Regions from separate parts of the Homo sapiens genome. Here region 1 is linked to region 2. The links are contacts of gene promoters, found by promoter capture Hi-C in human tissues and cell types (Jung and others, 2019). All regions are on one chromosome and are shown on one strand. Each heading gives the region's core, a stretch centred on a gene start or on the middle of the fragment in contact. The rest is flanking DNA. Distances are from core to core; before and after follow the strand shown.

Region 1 (5,341 bases), core at 93-2,592, 170 kb before region 2:
TTTGTGATTACTATGCATATGTGTGAGCACTATGGCTGGATGTCCTAGACTTGATGGATATAATAATTGTGTTAGGCTATTTTGTAGGCGAAATAGAAGTTAAATCCATTTTTATTGTTTTGGTTATTTTGAAGCAGTAATATGGACTCATTCCAAGACTTTACATTTTTATGTAATAGCAACTATAATGATAGGAAAAGTACTGAAATCAGAAGAAAGTTTGTTTCTATAACATGCCTCTCAGGCTTTTCAAATCTAACATCCCCACCCTTTTCATAACAAATATTTTGTGATGCTCCTTTGTCCTGAAATGGAATTTATATACAATACTGTAACTATATGTCTAATTAAAAAAAATAACTCTCAGTGTAATACAGAGTAGAAAAAGGCAATTAATAATAAAATAGCATGTATTTCATAGGAAAATGCGCAGGTTCAACCCTAAAAGACATAGCAAAGTGGTTAGATGAGTGCATACAGTTATAGACGAAATAAATTTGGACTTAAGGCCATTCTATAGTAGAAATACAAAAAAAAAGAGAGAGCAGGGATAAATGCTAAAATAAAGATTAGAATATTAATTATATATTAAAACCACGCAAAAAATACTTTGTGTTTATGTGTAAAACATAGAGACTAGACTTAGGTTCTAGTCTCAGAAAATTGTAAACAAGCTTTTAATCTTCATGACTAACCAGCAGGATATTTTGTAAGTTGTACAGGACTTGGGACAATTCCTCACTGTGTGGGGTTATTACGGGCATTGCATCCTGAGCCCCCTACTCACTAACTATCAGTAACACTCAAGTGAATTTCTAAAATACTCTCAGTAAAAACCACTGCCCTATACAATGGCAGGATTGGGACATATGGCCAGAGATAGGTAGTGACCTCTCTTTCAAGAGGCTTCACAGGTTAGCACTCATTACCTTGTGAATTTAACACAGTTTGGGGTCTGGCCTAAACCTCTGTAAGCTTATAAATAATTCTAACAGCATATGGAAAGAGGTTCCACTTTTTAGAAGCAGAATCACTGTAAATGATATATATATAATCACAAAGTCAATTAATTGATTTACAAAGTAAATTTATCACAGTGACTGGCATGTTTATGGCCCATGGGAGTGGCATAAATGTATGGGAAATCAAGTTATAATCAGATCTCCTGGTAAGTAAGGACTCAGATATAATATTTGTATTTTTGTAATATGTGGACTCTCATAATAATTATTTTTCAGATCTAAAATATATTCTATAAATATAAAATATTTATATTTACTATATTCAAAAATGCACTAAAAGCTGCTTTAATGAGAAAATTCACCAATTTTTAAATATTTTTTTCTAGCAACTAAGACTTCAAAAATGATTAATCTAAGTTCATTCAGGAAAAAATAGATAACGTACATGCCCTATACCCATTAAAGACATTGAAATTAGTAATTAAAAACCTCCCCACAGGCCGGGTGCGGTGGCTGACGCCTGTAATCCCAGCACTTTGGGAGGCTGAGGTGGATGGATCACATGAGGCCAGGAGTTCGAGACCAGCCTGGCCAACATGGAGAAACCCCGGCTCTACTAAAAATACAAAAATTAGCCAGGTGTGGTGGCAGGCACCTATAATCCAAGCTACTCAGGAGGCGGAGGCAGGAGAATCGCTTGAACCCGGGAGGCAAAGGTTGCAGTGCCGAGACTGTGCCACTGCACTCCAGCCTGGGCGACAGAGTGAGGCTCTGTCTCAAAACAAAACAAAACAAAACCTTCTCACCAAGAAAATTTCAGGCCCAAATGCCTTCATTGGCAAATTCTACCAAACATTTAAGAAAGGAATAATACTAGTTCTATACAAACTCTTTCAAAAAATAGATAGGAATCCTGTACTTCCCAACTTATTCTATGAGGCCAGCATTACTCTGACACCAAAATGAAACAAAGACATTACAGAAAAAGAAAACCACAATGAACACAGGTGTAAAAATCTTTAACAATATTTAGGAAATCAAATTTAGCTTTATATAAAAAAACATACATTAGTTTTCTATTACCACACACTTAGCAGCTTAAACAATACACACTTATTATTGTACAGTTCTGCAGGCTGTACAATACATTCAGCTGCTGAGGCCTGTACAAGTCTGATGCAGGTCTCACTGGGCTAATGTCAAGGTGTTGAGAGGGCTGCATTCCCTTCTGGAAGTTCCATTTCCTTGCCTTTCTAGCAAATCCATTTCCTTGCCTTTCTAGCTTCTAGAGGCTGTTTTCACTCCTTGGCTCATGTCTTTTGAGCTTCATAGTAGAGTTATGAGTGGATTGCATACCAGCAATACAGTAAGAGAGTATTCTGAGTTTGTCCAGGTACTTAATTTTACCTGTAGGTTTTATACTTTGAAAAGTTTTCTTTTGCACATTAGCGTTTTTTCTTTCAGACTGAAGAACTGCCTTTAGTATTTCTTGCAAGATGGATCTAGTGGTGGTGAATTCTCTCAGCTTTTGTTTGTCTGGGAAAGATTTTATCTCTCCTTTATATTTGAATGATAATTTTGCTGGATACAATATTCTTGGATGGCAGGCTTTTTTTGTCTCTCTTTGAGCAATCTGAAAATGCCATTCCACTCCCTCCTGGCCTGTTTAGTTTCCTTAGAGTAATCCGTTGCCACATGAATTAGAGCTACTTTACGTGTTATTTGCTTCTTTTCTCTGCTGCTTTTAGGATCCTCTCTTTGTCCTTGACCTTTGAGAGTTTCATTTTTCTATGCCTTGGAGTAGTCTTATTTGGGTCAAATCTGTTTGGTGTTCTCTGACCTTTCTGTAGCTGGATATTTCTCTTTCTCAAGTTTTGGAAAGTTTTCAGTTCTTATCCTTTTGAATCAACTTTCTACCCCTTGCTCTCGCTTCACTCTCTCTTGAACACCAACAGCAGTAATTCTTAGATTTGGTCTTTTGAGGTAATTTTTTACATATTGTAGGTGGTCTTTGTTACATTTTATTCTTATTTCTTTTTTCTTCTCTGATTGTGTATTTTCACACAGCTGGTTTTTGAGCTCATAGATTCTTTCCTCTGCTTGGCTCACTCTGCTGCTCAGAGCCTCTTAAGAGTTCTTCAGTTTGGCAAATGTATTTCTCAGTTCTAAGATTTCTGTTTGATTTTTTAAAATTATTTCAATCTCTTTGTTAGATTTCTCTGATAAATTTCTGCTTTTCTGTATTATCTTGGAGATACCTGAGTTTCCTTAAAACTGCTATTTTAAATTATTGGTCAGAAGCTAATAGTCGCCATCTCGTTAGGGTCAGTCATTGGATTTTTGCTTTGTCCTTTGGGGAGACTGTGGTTCCCTGTTTGCTGTTGTTACTTGCGGGTATATGTCTATGTCTTTGCATTGAAGGATTAATTATTGATTCTAGTTTTCTCTGTCCAGCTTGTTTTGTCTTTCATTGAATATATTTGCTTAATCTTTGCAACTAGATTGCTGCCTCCTTTTCGGCTCTAGGTGGCGCTATAAGCCCAGGTTCACTTTGGCTCTAGTAAACGGTTGCAGTGCTGCCTGTCCCAAATGGGGGAGTCACCAAAGGGATTATCCCAGGTATGTTCTACAGGCTCCTAGGCAGGAACCCCTAGTCAGCAGTGTGGGAAGACTGGCTAGGGGTTCCTGCCCATGGGAACCTGTGGAATGTACCTCCTACAGTGTGGTGCTGCTGAATAGCCACTCTGATTTGGTGTCTCATTTGGCTGAGTTACAGAGCAGAGTTTCCAGGGTTGGGGATGGTAGTCTCACCTTCTGACCTTTGTTGCAGCCTGTCCTCAGAGATATTTCTCCCTACAGGCACTCACAATGCTTCCCATGAGTTAAGGCAGGGACAGGACTCCTGCTACGGAACCCAAGAAGGTGAGGAAGCTGGTTGACCACTCAATTTCACTTTTTCCAGTGTAAAAACAGAATTGAGGGAGATTTTCCACATGCTTGGTGCTGAAAGAATGTAGGGGAGGGGACTCGCAGACGTGGAAATCTGATTCTCCAATCATATGCTCAAGGTTTTTCCACTTCTCTGTGGCCCTGGGGGCTGTCTCATCCTCATACTTGAACTCTGGGTTGTTGCTGGTGAAAATCTCAATGCTATATATTTGTTTTTGGTCTTCTATTGAGGGATTGAAGCTGGCTTGCTTCTATACTACCATTTTGAAATCCTGCATTCCTTGATTCATGCCCTCTTCCTTCACCTTCAAAGTCAGCAATGGGCGGGCGCAGTAGCTCACGCCTGTAATCCCAGCACTTTGGGAGGCCTAAGGAGGCAGATCACGAGGTCAGGAGATCGAGACCATCCTGGCTAACACAGTGAAGCCCGTCTCTACTAAAAATACAAAAAAATTAGCTGGGCATGGTAGCGGGCGCCTGTAGTGCCAGCTACTTGGGAGGCTGAGGCAGGAGAATGGTGTGAACCCGGGACCTGGGAGGCAGAGCTTGCAGTGAGCCGAGATCGCGCCACTGCCCTCCAGCCTGGCGACAGAGCAAGACTCCGTCTCAGGAAAAAAAAAAAAAAAAAAAGTCATCAATGATGGTTGAATCCTTTTCATATCATATTACCCGACCTCCTCTTCTGCCTCCCTCTTCCACTTTTAAGGTCACCGATTGCACTGGTCCAACCAGATAATCCAGGACAATCTCCTCATCTTCAGGTCAGTTTATCAGAAACCTTAATTTGGTCTGCAATCTTAATTCCCCTTGTCATATAACATAACATATTCACAGGTTCCAGGCTTTAGGGCATGTTTGGAGGCAGGAGGGAGACGGGGGATTACTCTGCCTACCACAAACATGATGATAAAGTGATATTTATCCCAAGACTGCAATCAATTTTCAAATAGAAGAACAGAGTTAGAAGAATTATACTATCCAATTTCAAGAACTACTATAAAGCTACAGTAATCAAGATTTCATGGAACTGGAATGGAGTGCCTAGTAAAACAACCACATTTAAATGGTCATTTGCTTTTTAGCAAGGGTGCCAAACCAACCAATAGGGAAATAGTTTTTTCAAAAAAAAATAATGCTAGAGTATTCTGATATCTACGTTAAAAAAAACAAACAAAACCTTGACAAACCCTACTTCATAACACACATAAAAATTAAAGATGAATCATATTACAACTCAATAATAAAAGATAACCAAATTAAAATATTGACACAGGATTTAAATAGACATTTCTCTAAAGAAGATACACAAAAATAGATGGTCAATAGATACACAAAAAGATGTCCCACATTAGTCATCCAAGAGGCACAAACTAAAACCATAAGAAGATACCACTTTATACCCAATAGGATTACTATATAACAAAAAAGAC
Region 2 (5,409 bases), core at 1,050-3,549:
AAAAGAGAACTTAAGATCAGGAAACCTGGGTTTGAGTCCCCAATCCAACTGAACAGCTATTTTAGAGAAATTTACACAAGGGTCTCAAAGTTTTCTCATTTGCAAAACGGAGCTGTGAAGGTTCTGTTTGGCAACATATGATAAAGCATTATCAAATATATAGTATTTCCTCGGCCCAGCATGCCATAATAGGTTTCAGACTAGGTATAGTGTTTTTGATTATGTGGATAACTATCTTAAAATCCTTCTGAATGTAGTCGAGGATGTTTATAAGAGTATTTGAAATAAAACTTAGGAGCCATGCAAAAAACCCAGGTCAGTTATCTTCTGTATTAGAAATGATAAGCACAAACTGTATGCTTGTTCAACTGCTTTCCAAAATAAAACATTTTTTGATAGTTTGAAATTGGGTATATAAAGAATATGCAATTGAAATAACTCAACTTTTGGGTGTTTTTGTTTTTGTTTGTGAGATGGAATCCCTGTCGCCCAGGCTGGAGTGCAGTGGTGCAATCTCGGTTCTCACTGCAGTCTCCGCCTCCCAGGTTCAAGCGATTCTCCCGCCTCAGCCTCCCAAGCAGCTTGGACTACAGGTGCACACCATGACACCCAGTTAATTTTTGCATTTTTATTAGAGACAGAGTTTCACCATGTTGATCAGGCTGGTCTCAAACTCCTGGCCTCAAGTAATCTGCCCACCTCAGCTTCCCAAAGTGCTGAGATTACAGGCATGAGCCACCACACTCAGCCAAAATATGAATTTTTTGGATAGTCTTGAAATTTGTATCTTATTTATCTAATCAGTTTGTTTGTTAAATTTCCATTTTATTTTGCACTGGATTAAAAACATCATTATTATAAATATTTTTGCATTGCTTTACAATTTACAAAGCACTTTCACATGCATTCTCTTATTTAATATTCACAGCAATCCTGTGAGTTATATAGAGCAAAATTAGTATCCTCATTTTATAGATGAGGAAACTGAACCTCAGAAGTGTAAGGTCACATTCTGTGTAACAGATGGCGCAGGAACTGTGAGTTGGTGGCTACTGCATTCCCAGTACTGGAGACAAACCTAGCACATCACAACACCCAGTAAATATTTGTTGAATGGATAGATGGAACTCAAAAGCAGGTCTTCTGATTCCAGAATTTCAGGTCATAGGACATAAAATAAAATTCGAATCAACTCATAATAATGTTGAGTGATGCTGATAAACAAGCCTTTCCTGGCAACCAGGAATAATCTACAAATATAAGAAGTCGAAAGATGTTCAGCATTGCTCATATTTAAATACAGACCAATCAAAACAAGGACATGCCATTTTTACCTATCAGATTTAGCAAAGATAACAAAATGGGCTATTCTGGGAACCAGGGAAGATGTGGGAAACAGACACACACTGGTGTGCCGCATGCAAACTCTTGCCACCCACTTGGAGAATGTGTTGCTGTCTTTCAATCTTTCAGATGCACGTAACCTTTTCCCTAACAAGTTCACCTTTAAAAACTGTTGCTACCGACTCCCATATGTACTCAAAGATAGATGCCTAAGAATTTTCACATGCACGTTATTTGCAGTAATAAACAACCAAAAACCATTTAAATGTTAATGAATAGACTAACGATAGTGTAGAATATTGACAGGATGGAAAACTATGCAGCCATTAAAAGGAACAAGGCAAGTCAGTGTGTGCTGATATGGAACAATCTCCAAGATATATTGATAATTGTAAAAAGCAAGATGTCAAAAAGCCAAAGGAAAACCTATACTGACCTGTGTTTGCCTATGCGTAGACTGTCTCTGGTTAGATTCAGAAGACACTATTAACAATTGTTCACTGGCCAAGGGGATTGGGGCAGGAGAGACTTTACACGGGGAACCTTTGGATACTGTTTCACTTTATAATTAAAAGATAATTCGAGAAGATATATCAAGGCCTATTTCTTGGAGGCCAGAGCGCTCCTAACCCCTGAGCCTGCCTCAGCCTCTGGCTCCCACCCCCGCAGCCGCCCCGTCGCCTCTGAGCAGGACGGGGCCCCACTCACCCTTCCCGGCCGCAGACAGAGCGCGGGCGCCCGGGGGAGCCCTGCAGCGGGCAGCTCCGCAGCAGGAGGCCCCGCAGCAGCTGCGCGCCGGGACGGAGCATGACTAGGCCGAGGCCGAGGGCGCAGGCGCCTGCTCCGAGGCCAGCGGGCAGCCTGAGGCCGCGGGGCCGGCGGGGCGGGGGTCGGATCCTCCCCCCGGGCTGGGGGCGGGCTCCTAGACGGCCGCGCGCCCGGGAACCCGGCGCCCACAGAGCCGCGGCACCATGGCACCTGCTGGACGCCCGGGGGCCAAGAAGGTGAGTTTCGTCCCCTCGATCCTCGCGGAGCTCCTGGCCGCTGGGCTGCGAGCGACTCCGTTCACACCCGGCGTCCATCCCTAGCCAAGCCCTGGGGCCTCGGCAAAACACTTGGACGGGATGGCCCTGAGCCTCAATTTTCCCCTGTCACGGGTTGGTTAGCGTTTATGGAGCCCTTACTCGGTGCCTGGCGCTGCACAGAGTGCTGTGCTCAAGTTATCTCCTCATCTTCACAATTATCCCCATTTCACAGGTGAGGAAACTGAGGCTCGGCGAGTCAGGCGACTAGCTCAGGGTCACGGGTCCAGCCCCGCGGGGAGCGAGGATCAGAAGTCTAGCTTTCGGACGCATGTCGCGCACACATTTTCTTCCCTCAACCGACCCTCGCCCGCAGCTCTTTGGGCTAATCCGTCCGGGAACTCTTCGGACTGTCCCCTCGCGTTTTGGAAAAGTCAGCAGCCTGGCCAAGCAGCCTGGCCTTGCGAGTCGCCGGCTGGTCTGAAACTAGTCCTGGGCAAGGACGCCCCCAGAGCTGCGGTGCAGGGTGGAGGGTAGGTGGGATTCGCTAGCACCCCTCAACCTCCTCTCACCCGGTGGTCCCCAGCTCCTGGCCCCTTTCCTGGTCTGGTCACCAGATGTTGGCTTTATGCCCAGCCATTTCTACGTCGAGTATGTGTGGGGGTGGGATGAAGGAGTGACTAAGCAAAATTAGGAAGGGCATGAGCTTGGACGAAAGACATCCCCAGGACCCTTCAGAGACCCCCACCCGCTCCAGCCCTGTCATTCAGAATGGGAGGAAGGGAGGAGGGGCAGTTTATGCGTGGAAATGTGCACCACCGAGCTATTTATACTAAAAAGTTAGAAACGACCAAGATACTCTGCAATACGGGATTCTAAATAAATTAAGGTTCATCTACTTAAGTTATTAGACAGTTAAATAACTTAGTATGAGAACCAGCTAAGTGCCTTGGCAATGTTAAGTTGCAAAAGGAAATATATCACAAACTGATCCCAACCATATACAAATATTTATATACACACTGTAAGGAAGGACACAATAATGGTAATAGTTACACAAGATGTGGAATATTGGTTTAAAAAGCATGTTTTAGGATATTTTTTCAGGTTATAAAAGCAAAATGTGAGCATTGAAAGAATACAGTTAATAAAAATAATCAAAGAACATTGTGCTTTTTTCTCTCAACTTTCTCTAATGCTATGTTCATCTTTACAGTTCATATTTTTAAACGTTTTTAAAATGCCCTGTTTTTGTTCAGTGTCTTTGGGGCCTCTACTGTTACAACACCAAGATTATCACACACTAATCCATGTGAATGTGTACCTGGGAGTTAAGGTGTTAATGGGAAGGAACTAATCTCACCTCTCTCCTCAGCTAGCAGGTACATTTTAAGAATTCATTTAATTGCCACAGACAAGACCTCCAATTAGGTCTTAAATCCAAAAGAGCAGTTCTGCTGGCAAATCTAGGAAAAGGGGAAGTTATTTTAGACAGACTGGGTTTTTCTGATCACCTCCTACTACACAGTGAAGTTGATCCCCACTGAGTATGAATAGAGATGTCTTGAAGCCAGATCTTAAACCCAGAGGTCTTACGTAGTGATATCTGCAAAAAGGGGGCATAAATGCACCCTAGAGCTCGCTGTCAGATGCAAGGCAGGTTCACTGCCAAACTGATGGGGAGGAGGGAATGAAAATATAAATGTACTGCAAAATTAATTTACAGGGTTCCTTATTTTACATGTTCCTGTCTTTATAATTTTACAGTTGACTTTAGATCGTACTAGTATAATGGTGAGGAACAACACACACTGGGGCCTATCGAAGGGTGGAGGGTGGAAGGAGGGAGAGGATCAGGAAAAATAACTAATGGATACTAGGCTTAATACCTGGGTGAGGAAATAACCCATATAGCAAACCTCCAATGATGCACATTTACCTGTGTAACAAACCTGCACATCCTGCACATGTACCCCTGAACTTAAAAGTAAAAAAAAAAAAAAAAAAAAAAACTAAAGAAGGGATCATACTGGTATAGTAATTAATTGAGGTAGTTAGAATAGCAGTGAAGGAAGGGCTAAAAGATGCTCTGATCTCAAATCTTGATAACTTAGTTATTTTGCTAATGGCTATGTAGAAAAATGGCAAATTGGCCGGGCACAGTGGCTCACACCTGTAATCCTAGCACTTTGGGAGGCCGAGGCAGGCAGATCATCTAAGGTCAGGAGTTCGAGACCACACTGGACAACATGGTGAAACCCTGTCTCTACTAAAAAATACAAAATTAGCTGGGCATGGTGGCATGCACCTATAATCCCAGCTACTTGCGAGGCTGAGGCAGGAGAATTGCTTGAACCCTGGAGGTGGAGGTTGCAGTGAGCTGAGATCGCGCTACTGCACTCCAGCCTGGGCGACAAGAGTGAAACTCTGTCTCAAAAAAAAAAAGAAAGAAAAGAAAAGAAAAATGGCAAATTTAAAATGGTGGACAAACATCCAGATAACAAATGAAAATGTCCTCCCTTTACTTGGTTTCATAAAGACACAGTCAAAATATATACTACAATTTTCTTAAAACCTACCTAATTGTCTGCTAAAGAGTAACATTTTTTCTTCTTCAGGACAAAAATTCTAGCATATGCAATACATCTGACATTTTCAAAACAGTCCTGTTTATTTGCTAATTCTTGGCATAGTTTCTTAAGTGTCTACTCATTTTAGTTGTTATATGTGGTGGTAGGGATATAGACCAATAAGATATGTCACCTGCCCCCAAGCCTCTTACAGTCAAACTGAGGTGACAAGTAAGTAACCAGATACTGCTGTACAGGGGGATGCATGAATGAAGGATCTGTGAAGTTAAGCAGGACACAAAAGGGGTATAATCACAGGTGAGACTGGGTCAGTGAGCCTGTGCTCTGGTAGCAATGGAAGACAGTTCAGAGTAGGGCTGGAGAGAACTGGAGACCATTTCAATAATCAAATGCAGTGAGGATGGTGGGGCATTTGAGAAATGTGTAATACACTTGGCATAACCCTGTGATAG

What was found. The method cuts DNA at HindIII sites, captures the fragments that hold promoters and counts their contacts. A contact is called where the count stands out against the background at its distance.
Region 1: a fragment that was not itself captured here is called in contact with the fragment with the promoter of BHMT2 in region 2 in 1 of the 25 tissues and cell types used here (mesendoderm cells).

Annotation. Positions count from the first base shown.
Region 1 is chr5:78,896,526-78,901,866 of GRCh38, forward strand. The region is part of intron 4 of ARSB (arylsulfatase B); the gene reads right to left. Among named protein-coding and RNA genes, the nearest start is that of ARSB, 86 kb to the right of the region's middle. RefSeq lists a silencer at 3,544-3,633. The HindIII fragment of the contact is 5,434 bases long and covers 1-4,059 here.
Region 2 is chr5:79,067,468-79,072,876 of GRCh38, forward strand. BHMT2 (betaine--homocysteine S-methyltransferase 2) reads left to right here and starts at 2,300. Exons shown (of 8, transcript NM_017614.5): 1 at 2,300-2,348. The coding sequence starts at 2,316. It overlaps DMGDH (dimethylglycine dehydrogenase), which reads right to left and starts at 2,207. Exons shown (of 16, transcript NM_013391.3): 1 at 2,053-2,207. The coding sequence starts at 2,153. The HindIII fragment of the contact is 19,729 bases long and covers 1-5,409 here.